Regions from separate parts of the Homo sapiens genome. Here regions 2, 3, 4 and 5 are each linked to region 1. Evidence: promoter capture Hi-C in human tissues and cell types (Jung and others, 2019). All regions are on one chromosome and are shown on one strand. Each heading gives the region's core, a stretch centred on a gene start or on the middle of the fragment in contact. The rest is flanking DNA. Distances are from core to core; before and after follow the strand shown.

Region 1 (2,919 bases), core at 197-2,696:
CTGCTTAACCAGAATCTGCAACAATAACTGGGGAGGAAGGGTAGACAAAGTCATAATTGCTGGTGTCACCAGGGCAGAGTCTAAGGCCCCAGCTTCCACTTCAGGAGGAAACAATTGAGGATGCCAGGTCACCAGCAAGAGAGTCCAGCTGCCTTAAGCCTCAGTACTGTCAACCAGTGCCCAGGAGTATAGAGGAGTTCAACAATGGCCTGCGGTCCCCTGGCTGGATGGGGTCTGGGAGTCCAGCAGGCTGCCGGGGCACCAGTTCACATTCCGTGCTTCTTGCGGATGACAGCCATGGCAAGCAGCCGATCCTTCTCACGCAGTTCTTCGCGCAGCTTGGCCTCAGTGAGACGCAGGTGGCGAATGCTGCCTTTCATCTCTTTCATCTTCACTTCCATCAGAGCCAGGATGTCCCGCTGCTCATTCAGCTTGCGCAGGAGCTCCTCCTCCGTGGTGCCTGACGACAAGGAGTACGAATGGTCGGAGCCAGTATCAGGGAAGCCCTCTTCCCCTACCACCACCAACTGGGGGCCCATAGGGCACTCGGCAGCCTCCAGCCCTGCGGTAGCAGCCTGTAACTCCGACGCGGCGGCCGCAGCGGCTGCGCCCTCTGCGGCTGCAAACTCCACTTGCACTGTGAGATCGATGGGCTTCACGTCTTCTCCAGTGGGAGTGATGGGCGCCGGCTGTACGGATCCCGGAGCCTGACTGCTGTCTACAGTGGCCTGAAGGGTGAGAAGCACGGCCGCGGAAGCAGATACCAGGTTCGGCTGCAGCTGGGCAGTCTGGGCAGTGGAGGCAGAGGGTGAGGACTGCTGCTGCTGCTGCTGCTGCTGCTGCTGTTGCTGCTGCTGCTGCTGTTGCTGCTGTTGCTGCTGCTGCTGCTGTTGCTGCTGCTGCCTGCGGCGGGCGGCCGCGGCCCCAGCGGGTCTGCGCGCTACTTTGCGCTCATTGACGCCGCGCAGCGGGAAGATGGTGGGGACGCGTACCGTGTAGGTCTTGCGGCCGCCCTGGAAGTGAACGCTGCAGAGACGGTGGCCTGTGGTGGGCTGGAAGGTGGAGAAGCACCCACTGACGCCGGCACGCGACACGTTCTTGAGCCAGAGGCGCCGCAACTCAGCGTCCTTTGGAAACGTGTAGAAGTGCAGCGCCTTGTCCCGGTGCGAGTTGTTGTAGCAGCCTGGCACGCAGCACGTAAAGCCAGGCATGGCTGCGCCGCGCGGCCCGGCCCGGCCCACCGGCCTCCTGCGCTCTTCGACGGCCCAGTGGCTACGCCGCCGCCCGCCCCTCGACGGGCGGCGCCGCGCGAGGCCTTGGGTGGTATCCCACCACTGCCGCTCGGCGCAGCCGGCCCGCCCGGCGCCCCGTGCCCAGAATACGCTTCCTGCCGGCCCGCGCCGCGCCGCCCGCCTGGCTGCCCGCCTGCGCTCGGGAGTGGGCCCCGGGGACGCCGCGAAGGACCGCCTGAGAAAGAGACTACGCCCCCCACAATGCCCCGCGCCAGAAGCGGCTCACTTCCGGGGCGGGTGTGTGCGGATTCCTGCCGCCTTCCAAGGCACTGCGATAGCCTCCGAAGAGCAGATTCTTTCCCCAGCCCGTCTTGTCCCCGGCGGGCGAGAGAGGCGTATTAGGTTGGAACGCTGTCGCCTGGACTGCTCCTCACGAGGACCCGAATCCTGATAGGGGCGTGGAGCGGGGCGGTGCGCGCCTCACCGGTGCGCAAGCGCGGTGGGTATATGCCCACGGAGACTACAAATCCCGTGATGCCTCGCGCTGAACTAGGCGCCTTCCCTCCGAAGCGCCGCCTAAGGGAAAGATCGAGTTACTGCGGACCAGGATTCGGGCGAGGTTGTGCTGTTTGCCAGAACCAGTTCCCCAGCCCCGAGCCCCTTTGAGTCGACGGCATTGCTGCAGCAGAGGGAGACGAAACCTGGGCCTCGGCGCCCCGAAGGGTCTCAGGAGCCCCTTTCTTTGCGTTGGGGACTCTCTCCTGATTCAGCTGCTGCCTGCGTTGACTAACTGATCTAAACAAAGTCTCCAGTAGACGCCTACTATGTGGCTGACACGGTGCCGGGAGTTTGCGGGAGTCAGACCGACTGGGCTCCTCTCTTGGAGCCTGACTACCTAGACGGATAAGCGTCTGTCTTTTGGATAATAGATCTGAATGCACGCGAATGGATGTCTACTCACAAATAGTAATCGCTCCAAAGGAATTAACAGGAGAGCAGAGAAATGGGGGGGAGGTGGTGGGGGCCAGGAATAAAAAAACGAACGAAAGCTTGGGTAGGGAGAAGTAGCCAATTCTTGTCCCAGGAACCAGTCTGTAAGGCCACATGGCAGAAAAGAGCTAGGCTCCGCCATTAAAGAGCCTGGAAAGGGGTGGCCCGGGTAGGGCCAAGCGTAGGAAAATACCAAACTGGGACATGTTAAGGATTTGGGGTTTTATTCTGCAGGCCACTGAGAGCTATTAAAGGATTTTATGGGAAAGGATTTGCATTGTAACAATACACCTCCCCCCACCTCAACTTATTTGAGGGAATCTTTTTTTTTTTTTTTTTTTTTTTTTTTTGTAAAGGAGTCTCACTGTGTCGCCAGACTGGAGTGCAATGGTGAGATCTCGGCTCACCGCAACCTCCGCCTCCTGGGTTCAAGCAATTCTCCTGCCTCAGCCTCCGGAGTAGCTGGGACTACAGGCGCATGCCACCATGCCCGGCTAATATATATATATATATATATATATATATATATATATGTATTTTGTATTTAGTAGAGACGGGGTTTCGCCATGTTTCTCAGGCTGGTCTCGAACTCGTGAGCTCAGGCAATCTGCTCGCCTCGGCCTCCCAAAGTGCTAGGATTACAGGCGTGAGCTAGGATCACGGCGCCTGGCTGGGGGAAAATGTTTTAAAGAACACA
Region 2 (2,919 bases), core at 203-2,702, 250 kb after region 1:
GCAGCTCTAAGACCCCATGAACTTTCACAAGCCACAGAAATTCTGAAAGTCAACATGAAGGGTACCTAACAAATGGCCTAACAGAGGTTGATACGAACCCTCAGACATCATAAGAAGGCAGAGAACGCACAGCCATAAAAAAGAATGAAATAATGTCCTTTACAGCAACACAGATGCAGCTGGAGGTCATTATCCTAAGCGAATTAAGGCAGGAACAGAAAACCAAGTATCTCATGTTCTCACTTACAAGTGGAAGCTACACACTGGGTACACATGGACATAAACATAACAATAGGCCTTAGGGATTAGGAGGGGGAGGGAGAAAACGGGGTAAGGGCTGCAAAACTAATCATTGGGTACTATGCTCATTACCTGGGTGATGAGCAACAATTGTACCCCCAAACCTCATAATCACACAATATACCCATGTACACAAAAAAACTTGGACATGTACCCCCGAATCTAAAATAAAAGTTGAAATTGTAAAAAATTTTAAGAGAACAGAAGATACCTTGCACCTTTCTCTTTATATGTATAAAATATATATTAAAAACCATATATTAAAATATAAAAAAGATATACAAATATATAAATATAAAATATATATTAAACATTTATACATATATATATAAATTTTTTTTTTCCAGATGGAGTTTCACTCTGTCACCCAGGCTGGAATGCAGTGGCGCGATCTCGGCTCACTGCAACCCCTGCCTCCAGGTTCAACCGATTCTCCTGCCTCAGCCTCCTAAGTAGCTGGGACTACAGGCACATGCCACTGTGCCCCGCTAATTTTTGTATTTTTAGTAGAGACGGGGTTTCACCATGTTGGCCAGGCTGGTCTCAAACTCCTGAGCTCAAGTGATCCACCCACCTCGGCCTCCCAAAGTGCTGAGATTACTGACGTTGAGCCAGTCACCAACGCCTGGCCTCTGTAAGTATCTTTTTTTGATGTTGTTGTTTTTGAGACGGAGTCTCACTCTGTCACCCAGGCTGCAGTGCAGTGGCACGATCTTGGCTCACTGCGACTTCCGCCTCCTGGGCTCAAATAATTCTAATGTCTCAGCCTCCCGAGTGGCTGGGACTACAGGCGCATGCCACCATGCCGGCTAATTTTTATATTTTTAGTAGAGACAGGGTTTCACCATACTGGTCAGGATGGTCTCAAACTTCTGAGCTCTGGTGATCCTCCCACCTCAGCCTCCTAAATTACTGGGATTACAGGCATGAGCCACTGTGCCTGGCCTTATTTATTTTTTTAGACAGATTCTTGCTCTGCCACCCAGGCTGGAGCGCAGTGGCACAATCCCGGCCACTGCAACCTCTGCCTCCAGGGTTCAAGCAATTCTCCTGCCTCAGCCTCCTGAGCAGCTGGGATCACAGGCGTACACCACTATGCCCAGCAAATTTTTGTATTTTTAGTAGAGACAGGGTTTCACTATGTTGGCCAGGCTGGTCTCAAACTCCTGACCTCAGGTGATGTGCCCGCCTCATCCTCCCAAAGTGCTGGGTTTACAGGTGTGAGCCACTGCGTCCAGTCGATAGATCTTTACATTAGAAAAATGTTGACTGAAAAGCTTAGTCTGGTATTCTCACTATACAGAATGTTAAATGACATTAGGACAAGGAGGGGAAAAAAAGCAATTATAAGTCATCAGGTCGGGCACAGTGGCTCACACATATAATCCCAGTACTTGGGGAGGCAGAGCCAAGAGAATCGTTTGAGCCCAGGAGTTCAAGACCAGCCTGAGCAACATAGTGAGACCTTGTCTCCATTAAAAATTAAAAAAAAAATTAGCTAGGTATGATGGCATCCATCTGTAGTCCCAGCTACTCGGGACTGAGGCGGGAGGATCGCCTGAGCCCAGGCTGCAGTAAGCTATCATCACACCACTGCATTCCAGTCTGAGTGACAGCGCAAGACTCTGTGCCCTTACTGCCCCCCCCCAAAAAAAGTAATCAGTTTTTCCTGAGGATGAAAGGAAAAGCTAAGTAACTTTTACTAGATGCAGGACACTAGCCAAAACGAATAAAAGTTATTAACTCTTTTAGAGTAAAAGCTAGGTTTAAAAGTTAAACAAAATAACCATTTTACTCTGCTATTCCTGAAAACATATACGCCATCATCTTATCTGAGAGCTTAAAATACATCAAAGCAAAGTATCAGTGAACTAGTACCAGGAAAGTTGTAGACTACAATAAAGAATGAGGAGGAGTTGAATTGGGAGAATAACTTGGGCTGAGAAGCAGAAAAATAATAGTGACCATTTCTTTCACAGTGACTGGGAACGGAAGCAGCCTTTATCTGAAAAAGCACTCATCTATTTAATCACAACTGTACCTCTCACTTCTCTGACATTAATTTTCATTTATTTTTTGAGACAGAGTCTCGCTCTGTCACCCAGGCTGGAGTGCAGTGGTGAGATCTTGGCTCACTGCAATCTCTGCCTCCTGTGTTCAAGCAATTCTCAGCCTCAGCCTCCTGAGTAGCTGGGATTACAGGCACGCATCACCACGACTAGCTAATTTTTGTATTTTTCGTAGAGATGGGGTTTCATCATGTTGGCTAGGCTAGTCTCAAACTCCTGACCTCAAGTGATCTGCCCGCCTCGGCCTCCCAAAGTGCTGGGATTACGGTGGCTCACGCCTGTAATCACAGCATTTGTGTGAGCCACCCAGTCCAGCATTTTTTTTTTTTTTTTTTTTTTTGAGACAGAGTCTCACTCTGTCATCCAGGCTGGAGTGCAATGGTGCCATCTCAGCTTACTGCAACCTCCACCTCCCGGGTTCAAGCGATTCTCCCGCCTCAGCCTCCCAAGTAGCTGGGATTGATTACAGGCACCAAACATCATGTCCGGCTAATATTTGTATTTTTAGTAGAGACAGGGTTTCGCCATGTTGGCCACGCTGGGCTTGAGC
Region 3 (2,919 bases), core at 268-2,767, 230 kb after region 1:
GTGGTGGGCGCCTGTAGTCCCAGCTCTTGGGAGGCTGAGGCAGGAGAATGGCGTGAACCTGGGAGGCGGAGCTTGCAGTGAGCCAAGATCGCGCCACTGCACTCCAGCCTGGGCGACAGAGCGAGATTCCATCTCAAAAAAAAAAAAAAAAAGAATTATCAGGCCCAAGATGTCAAGAGCACTGAGGCTGAGAAACTCTGATACAGATAAAAGAGTCTTAAAGAGACAGTAATCAATCACAATGCATGAATCTTCTTTGGATCCTGATTCAAACCAATAAATGGTGAAAAAGATGTGACACAAGACAATTAGAAATTTCAACTCTGGATATCTGATGATATTAAAGAATTACTAACAAAACTAATTTAAATCTTACACATGTAGTGGGGAAGACACTGGTAAAGGACATATAATTTCAGTGGGAATAAGTTCAAGAGATCTATTATACAACATGAATATTACAGTTAATAATAACGTATACCTGAAAATAACTGAGAGCAGATTTTTAAGTGTTCTCATCACAAAAAATGACAAGGATGTGAGATGATGCATATATGAATTAGCTTAATTTTCTGCAATTATGGGGTCTTGCCACATTTCCAGACTGGCCTTGAACTCCTGGGCTGAAGCAATCCTCCCACCTAAGCCTCCCAAAGTGCTGGGATTATACATGTGACTGAGCCACTGTGCCCGGGTCTGCCAATGTTTTGTAAAAAGCTTTATTAAGGTAGCTTTATTAAGCACGTGGTGGCTCACGCCTATAATCCCAGCACTTTGGGAGGCTGAGGTGTGTGGATCACCTGAGGTCGGGAGTACGAGACCACCCTGAACAACATGGAGAAACCCCGTCCTAAGTAAAAATACAAAATTAGCCAGGTGTGATGGTGCATGCCTGTATGTAATCCTGGCTACTTGGGAGGCTGAGGCAGGAGAATCGTTTGACCCGGGAGGTGGAGGTTGCGGTGAGCCAAGATTGCGCCATTGTACTGTGCAGCCTGGGCAACAAGAACGAAACTCCGTCTCAAAAAAGAAAAAAAAAAACACTAAATACACCTCCAAAATTTCCTTGTATTTTGTTTTTGGTGATAATATTTATCATGAGATCCATCCTCAACATAATTCAAAGTGCATAATGCTATACGATTAATACAGGAACTATGTTGTGTAGCAGATCTCTAGAACTTACTCATCTTGCATAACTGAAACTTTATACCCACTCAACAGCAATTCCCCATTTTCCCCACCCTGTCAAGGGTTTTTGACCTTGTTTTTTGAAGCCAAACTCAGAACTTAGATCCAGACTGCAATGGCCGTGTTTGTAGACACTGCACAAAACTGCCCATGTCATACCATCAACTTGACATTCACCTCTCTCCTGACAATGAGATCAGGAATTCCCTGAGAATAAGAACCACATCTAACAAGTCGTTTTTTTTTTTTTAATTTTTTTTTTGAGACGGAGTCTCGCTCTGTTGCCCAGGCTAGGGTGCAGTGGCACGATCTCCGCTCACTGCAAGCTCCGCCTCCCAGGTTCACGCCATTCTCCTGCCTCAGCCTCCCGAGTAGCTGGGACTACAGGCGCCCACCACCATGCCCGGCTAATTTTTTGTATTTTTAGTAGAGACGGGGTTTCACCATGTTAGCCAGGATGGTCTCGATTTCCTGACCTCGTGATCCGCCTGCCTCGGCCTCCCAAAGTGCTGGGATTACAGGTGTGAGCCACTGCGCCCAACCGGTTTTTACTTTTTTTTTTTTTTTGAGTCGGAGTCTCGCACTGTCGCCCAGGCTGGAGTGCAATGGCGTGATCTTGGCTCACTGCAACCTCTGCCTCCCAGGTTTAAGTGATTCTCCTGCTTCAGCCTCCGGAGTAGTTGGGATTACAGGTGCCCACCACCACACCTGGCTAATTTTCTGTATTTTTAGCAGATACGGGGTTTCACTATGTTGGCCAGGCTGGTCTTGAACTTCTGACCTCGTGATCTGTCCGCCTCGGCCTCCCAAAGTGCTGGGACTACAGGCGTGAGCCACCACGCCCAGCCACGGTTTTTACTCTTTAGCACTGTGCCCAGGATGGTAAGTACTCAATAAATGCCAACCAAATTGAATATATAATAGAAAGCAGAAAACAAATCAGCCAATTCATAGTTTTTGGCTCTTATATCTTGTGAATGGGCCGGGCACGGTAGCTCACGCCTGTAATCCCAGCACTTTGGGAGGCCAAGGCTGGTGGATCAGTTGAGGCCAGGAGTTCAAGACCAGCCTGGCTAACATGGCAAAACCCCATCTCTACTAAAAATACAAAAATTAGCCAGGCGTAGTGGTGTGCACCTGTAATCCCAGCTACTTGGGAGGCTGAGGCACGAAAAGAACTTGAACCCTGGAGGTGGAGGTTGCAGCGAGCTGAGAAAGTGCCCCTGCATTCCAGCCTGGGCGACAGAGTGAGACTCGGTCTCAAAAACAAAAAATAAAAAACAAACAAAAATCTTGTGAATGACATTACCTAAACAAGAGTAAAATAGGGGCCAGGCGTGGTGGCTCAGGCCTGTAATCCCAGCATTTTGGGAGGCCGAGGCGGGCAGATCACTTGAAGTCAGGAGATGGAGACAAGCCTGGCCAACACGGCAAAACCCCGTTTCTATTAAAAATACAAAAATTAGCCAGGTGTGGTGGCACATGCCTGTAATCCCAGCTACTCAGGAGGCCGAGGCAGAAGAATTGCTTGAACCTGGGAGGTGGAGGTTGCAGTGAGCTGAGATTGGGCCACTGTACTCCCTCCAGCCAGGGCAACAGAGCGAGCCTCTGTCTCAAAAAAATAATAATAATTAAAATAAAATAAAACATATATAGCTGAGTGTGGTGGGGTGTGCCTCTAATCCCAGCTACTTGGAAGGCTGAGTGAGGCTCGAGAATTGCTTGAAG
Region 4 (2,919 bases), core at 262-2,761, 190 kb before region 1:
CTGGGGGTGGTGGCACATGCCTATAGTCCCGGTTACTTGGGAGGCTGAGGTGGGCGGATTGCTTGAGGCCATGAGTTCAACACCAGCCTGACCAACATAGCAAAATCCCATCTTTACAAAAAATAAAAATAATAAAAAGACAGGCAATGGCTCACGCCAGTTATCTTAGCACTAAGGAGGCCATGGTGGGGAGATCGCTTGAGTTGGAGATGGGAGATCAGCTTGGAGTTGGAGATTAGCCTGGGTAACATGGCAAGACCTCATCTCTACAGAAACATAAAAATTAGCCAGGAGTGGTAGTGCATGCCTGTAGTACCAGCTCCTAGGGAGGCTGAGGTGAGATCACTAGAGCCTGGGAGGCAGAGGTTGCCGAGCTGAGCTGATATCATACCACTGCACTCCAGCCTGGGTGACAGTGAGACCCTGTTTGAAAATAAAAATAAAACTAGGCCAGGCAAGGTGCCTCACGCCTATAATCCCAACACTTTGGGAGGCCAAGGTGGACAGATTGCTTGAACTCAGGAGTTCAAGATCAGCCTGGGCAACATGGTGAAACCCCATCTCTACAAAAAATGCAAAAATTGGGCTGGGCACGGTGGTTCATGTCTGTAATCCTAGTGCTTTGGGAGGACGAGGTGGGTGGATCACTCGAGGTCAGGAGTTCAAGACTAGCCTGGCCAATATGGTGAAACCCCATCTCTACTAAAAATACAAAAATTAGCCAGACGTGGTGGCATGCGCCTGTAATCCCAGCTACTCAGGAGGCTGAGGCAAGAGAATCACTTGAACCCAGGAGATGAAGTGAGCTGACATTGTGCCACTGCACTCCAGCCTGGGTGACACAGCAAGACTCTATATAAAAAAAAAAAAAAAAAAAAAAATTAGCACCTGTAGTCTCAGCTACTTGGGAGGATGAAGTTGGAGGATCACTTGGGCCTGGGAGGTTGAGGCTGCAGTGAGCCATGATCATGCCACTGCACTCCAACCTGGGTGACAGAGCAAGACCCTGTCTCAAAAAAAATTTTTTTTTAATTTTTAAATAAAAATAATTTTAAAAAGAAATAATCTCTGATCCAAGGTCTAAAGGAAGAGAACATGTTAACCAGTCCAATATGTAGAAAGAAAATCTTTCCCATTTCATTAATAGCATCTCCAGTCTCCCAATTACTCATTCTTAACCCACATTCCCCACATTCAATCCATCACTGACTTCTATTGAAATAACCTTCAAAATATAACTAACCCACATGCTTTACTACATGCCAATGGCCACAACTGCGCACCAGAAACCCTCCGCTCATCTGTTGCCAGGACTTTAGCACAGCCCCCAAATGTGTCTCCCAAAATCTACACTTGCCCCTTCCTATCCATTCTGCCAGCATGGGATCCTAAAAAGGCAACTCTGATAATACCACTCCCCCGTTTATACCTTTCAATGGCTTCCCACTGACTTTAGGAAAAATCCTAAACCTTTCTAATGGCCCACAAGGCCCTGCATGATCAGTCCCTACCCACCTCTCCAGCCTCACCCTCACCTGTGTCTCTCTCACCCTCCCTCTCGGCCCTGGCCACCCTGGCATTCCCTTTTTTTTTTTTTTTTTTTTTTTGAGATGGAGTCTCACTCTGTTGCCCAGGCTGGAGTGCAGTGGCGCAATCTTAGCTCACTGCAACCTCCACCTCCCAGGTTCAGCCTCCTGCCTCAGCCTCCCGAGTAGCTGGGATTACAGGCACCCACCACCACACCCAGCTAACTCCTGACCTCAGGTGATCCACCCACTTTGGCCTTCCAAAGAGCTGGGATTACAGGTGTGAGCCACTGTGCCCGGCCACCCTGGCCTTCCTTTAAAGTCTCCCACACCAAACTGTCTGCTTCCCTGGGGCCTGCCCACTTGCAGTTCTGTCTGGAATACTCCTCCAACTCAGTCATGCATGCCCATGCTAAGGTCCCCTTGTCCTTGAATGCCCCCTTTGTGAAGATACGTCCCTACAGAAAATCAAATTCAGGTCCCTGGTCCCATGCTTTCCAAACACCCTACATTTCTCTGCAGCTCAGTTACACTCCATGTGTCCACACTGACTGCTGTAGTTTCTTGTTCAATCCTCAGCTCCTCCTGGAGACCACCAGGACAACAAGCTCTACAAGAACAGGAGTGTGGCTGCTTAGTTCACTGCCAGATTTCTAGCACTGAGCCAGGTACATGACCTTTAGAGGCTGCTTAGTAAGGTGTGACTGAATACTTACCACTGTGGTAGCCAAGAGGACAGCCTCTTGTAGGGTGGTTGGTCTGGCAACTTCCTCTGGCACTCAGTCAGAGGTGCCTGACACACCCTGCCTCTAAGGAGGCTCCTCTGAGAAAAACTAGGCAGCCCCCATGCCTTTCCCAGTTACTGCCACAACCACTCACCCCACCCTGAGATCACACCCACATCACCACTTTAGTCACTCATTTCCAATCTCTTCTACCATTCCTTTTAAGGGCTGGTCTCCTCTATTACGCTCAATTTCTTAGACAGTAACCTTGGCTGGGCGAGGTGGCTCATGCCTATAATCCCAGCACTTTGGGAGGCCAAGGCAGGAGGATCACCTGAGATCAGGAGTTCCAGACCAGCCTGGCCAACATGATGAAACCCTGTCTCTACTAAAAATAAAAAAATTAGCCAGGCATGGTGGTGTGCACCTGCAATCCCAGCTACTCGGGAGGCTGAAGCAGGAGAATCACTCAAACCAGGGAGGCAGAGGTTGCAGTTAGCCAAGATCGCACCACTGCCCTCCAGCCTGGGCAACAGAGTGAGATTCCATCTCAAAAAATAAAAAATAATAACCTTAACTTCAGTTACATGGACATAATATCCTGTTAACCTTAAAAAAAAAAGACATTAAAGAAAAATACCTCCAAACATGTTGAGTTTATTTGAGAA
Region 5 (2,919 bases), core at 420-2,919, 170 kb before region 1:
CTCCCCTCAAGGCACCCACAAACAATATAATTTGTTCATAGAGACAAACAATATAATTTTTGTTGTTGTTGTTGTAGTTGTTTTTCTTGAGACGGAGTCTCGCTCTGTCACCCAGTCTGGAGTGGCGCGATCTAGGCTCACTGCAAGCTCTGCCTCCTGGGTTCACGCCATTGTCCTGCCTCAGCCTCCCCAAACAATATAATTTTAGATAACTATAACTGGTATAAAGAAAAATGAAACTGGATAAGAGAATACAGTAATGAGGTGTGCTGTGTTACACCAGGTGGTTAGGGAAGGCTTCTCTGAGATGATGACATTGTGGCTGAGATGTGAGGGAATCGTGAGGAGTAGAAGGGAGAGCATTACTGGAGGAAATTTCAAGTATAATGGTAAGAATGAGACTGATCCATTTTTTCTTTTTTTGAGGTGGGGTCTCACTTTGTCTCCCAGGATGGCGTACAATGGTGCGACCTTGGCTCGTTGCAACCTCTGCCTCTCAGGTTCAAGTGATTCTCCTGCCTCAGCCTCCTGAGTAGCTGGGACTAGAGGCACATGCCACTACACTCGGCTAATTTTTGTGTTTTTAGTAGAGATGGGGTTTCACTATGTTTGCCAGGCTGGTCTTAAACTGCAGACCTCAGGTAATCCGCCAGCGTTGGCCTCCCAGGGTGCTAGGATTACAGGTGTGAGCCAACACACCCGGCCTACAAGACTGACCAATTTGAGGGCCAGCAGAAAGGCCAGTGTGGCCAGGGAAGAAAGATAGAGGAGATTGAAAGATGTGGTGGCTGGGAGGCCAAGGAGGGAGGGTCACTTGAGCCCAGGAGTTTGAGACCAGCCTGGCAACATAGGGAGGTGCCCTTTCTACAAAAAATCAAAAAATCAGCTGGGTGTGGTGGTGAATGCCTGTGGTCCCTAGCTACTCAGGAGGCTGAGGCAGGAGGATTGCTTGAGCCTAGGAGGTATAGGCTGCAACGAGCCATGATCCTGCCACTGCACTCCAGCCTAGGCAACGAGTGAGACTCTGTCAGAAAGAAAGAAAGGAAGGAAGGAAGGAAGGAAAGATGGAAGGAAGGAAGGAAGGAAGGAAGGAAGGAAGGAAGGAAGGAAGGAAGGAAGGAAGGAAGGAAAAAAAAATAAGATGGTTGGAGGCCAGGTGCAGTGGCTCACTCCTGTAATTCCAGCAATTTGGGAGGCTGAGGCTAGTGGATCACCTGAGGTCAGGAGTTCGAGACTAGCCTGGCCAACATGGTGAAACCCTGTCTCTACTAAAAAATACAAAAATTAGCTGGGTGTGGTGGCAGGCGCCTTAATCCCAGCTACTTGGGAGGCAGAGGCAGGAGAATCATTTGAACCCGGGAGGCGAAGGCTGCAGTGAGCCGAGATCGAGCCATTGCACTCAAGCCTGAGGGACAAGAGTGAGACTTGTCTCAAAAAAAAAAAGAAAGAAAAGAAAAAGGTGGTTGGAGAAGTAAGGAAGTAAGCAAGTAAGCATGGGCCAGACCATAGTGGGCCGTGCCAGCCACGGTAAGGACAGTGGATCTTGTTTTAAGTATATTGGGAAGTCATGGAGGAATCTGAATAAGGTAGGGAAGTAATCTGATATAGATGCTAAAAAGATCCGTCTGACTGCTGCGTGCCATGGTAGTGAGGTGCTGGCTGTTACCAGGGGGACTGTCTCTCTCTGCAGCTGGGACAGCTGGTGCTGGGGACTGGGGGATGGAGGAGCAGTCAGCAGAGAAGAAACACCATGACGTTTGTCCCAAGTCTGCCTGTATCAGCAGCCCAGAAAAAGGCGGCACTGTCAGCAACTCACTTGTCCTTAGGGGTCCCAGCAGCAAGACTGTTGCTCCTCCCCCCAACACGCATACCATGGAGGCCAGGAAAGGTCCTGATAGGTTTTCCTAACTTGGGTTAAAGGAAGGAGGCACAGGCCCTGGGCTCCCAGAAAGTTCCCTGTGAGAGTCTCCATTAACCCCCAGAGTCTCTCATCCGTGGCGTGACTGAAGCAGATTTGTGGTTCCTGGATGGCCTGGATAGTTTGGCAGTTCCCAAAGCTGAAACAAATAGACTCAACTGGGGCTCTTAAAAAAGAGTGATCCCGGCCAGGCGCAGTGGCTCACACCTGTAATCCCAGCACTTTGGGAGGCCAAGGCGGGGAGATCACGAGGTCAGGAGATCGAGACCATCCTGGCTAACACGGTGAAACTCCGTCTCTACTAAAAAATACAAAAAAAAAAAAAAAATTAGCCAGGTGTGGTGGTGGGTGCCTGTAGTCCCAGCTACGCGGGAAGCTGAGGCAGGAAAATGGCATGAACCCGGGAGGCGGAGCTTGCAGTGAGCTGAGATCGCGCCATTGCACTCCAGCCTGGGTGACAGAGCGAGACTCGGTCTTAAAAAAAAAAAAGTGATCCCCAGCACCCACACCAGTCTAAAGTTTTAGGGTACTGGCCTAGAAATCCACAGTATTAAAAGCTTCCCCTCAGCTGGCCATGGTGGCTCATGGCTGTAATCCCAGCACTTTGGGAGGCTGAGGTGGGAGGATTGCTTGAGCCCAAGAGTTCGAGACCAGCCTGGGCAACACAGCAGCACTCCATCTCTACAAAAAATATTAACAGTAAAGAATTAGAAAAAAAAATTTTAAATAAATAAAAGCTTGCCTTAACTACCAGTTTATAGAAAACACAAGGACACAGGAACATGTTAAATGACACCATGAGATGCAATCAGAAAACTCTACAACATGGAAAACTCTAACGGACAAGGACGTGATTTTTTCAACAAAGAAATTGCAAGGAAGACAAAAAAAAGAAGAACCTGAAGATTGAGTCATAACAACCATTTACAATGTGGGCGGTCTGAGCTCCATTACAGTTCAAACCAATGAATTATTTAAAAATTGGACAATCAGATAAATTT

Evidence for each region. Contacts are between HindIII fragments. The study calls those that stand out against the background at their distance.
Region 2: a contact is called between a fragment that was not itself captured here and the fragment with the promoter of THAP11 in region 1, in 7 of the 25 tissues and cell types used here (IMR-90 fibroblasts, dorsolateral prefrontal cortex, lymphoblastoid cells and 4 more).
Region 3: a fragment that was not itself captured here is called in contact with the fragment with the promoter of THAP11 in region 1 in 9 of the 25 tissues and cell types used here (adrenal gland, dorsolateral prefrontal cortex, hippocampus and 6 more).
Region 4: a contact is called between a fragment that was not itself captured here and the fragment with the promoter of THAP11 in region 1, in 12 of the 25 tissues and cell types used here (IMR-90 fibroblasts, adrenal gland, bladder and 9 more).
Region 5: a fragment that was not itself captured here is called in contact with the fragment with the promoter of THAP11 in region 1 in 1 of the 25 tissues and cell types used here (heart right ventricle).

What each region holds. Positions count from the first base shown.
Region 1 is chr16:67,840,847-67,843,765 of GRCh38, reverse strand. THAP11 (THAP domain containing 11) reads right to left here and starts at 1,446. Exons shown (of 1, transcript NM_020457.3): 1 at 1-1,446. The coding sequence starts at 1,211. The coding sequence ends at 267. All of the region lies in intron 1 of CENPT (centromere protein T), which reads left to right. RefSeq lists enhancers at 123-172, 613-772, 484-1,230, 1,683-1,732 and a silencer at 1,253-1,432. The HindIII fragment of the contact is 20,232 bases long and covers 1-2,919 here.
Region 2 is chr16:67,590,751-67,593,669 of GRCh38, reverse strand. The region is part of intron 2 of CTCF (CCCTC-binding factor); the gene reads right to left. Among named protein-coding and RNA genes, the nearest start is that of CTCF, 30 kb to the right of the region's middle. The HindIII fragment of the contact is 6,285 bases long and covers 1-2,919 here.
Region 3 is chr16:67,606,858-67,609,776 of GRCh38, reverse strand. All of the region lies in intron 2 of CTCF (CCCTC-binding factor), which reads right to left. Among named protein-coding and RNA genes, the nearest start is that of CARMIL2, 37 kb to the left of the region's middle. The HindIII fragment of the contact is 5,706 bases long and covers 1-2,919 here.
Region 4 is chr16:68,031,597-68,034,515 of GRCh38, reverse strand. All of the region lies in intron 2 of DUS2 (dihydrouridine synthase 2), which reads right to left. Among named protein-coding and RNA genes, the nearest start is that of DUS2, 9.8 kb to the right of the region's middle. The HindIII fragment of the contact is 8,004 bases long and covers 1-2,919 here.
Region 5 is chr16:68,008,261-68,011,179 of GRCh38, reverse strand. No RefSeq gene overlaps it. Among named protein-coding and RNA genes, the nearest start is that of DPEP2NB, 6.2 kb to the left of the region's middle. The HindIII fragment of the contact is 3,801 bases long and covers 1-2,919 here.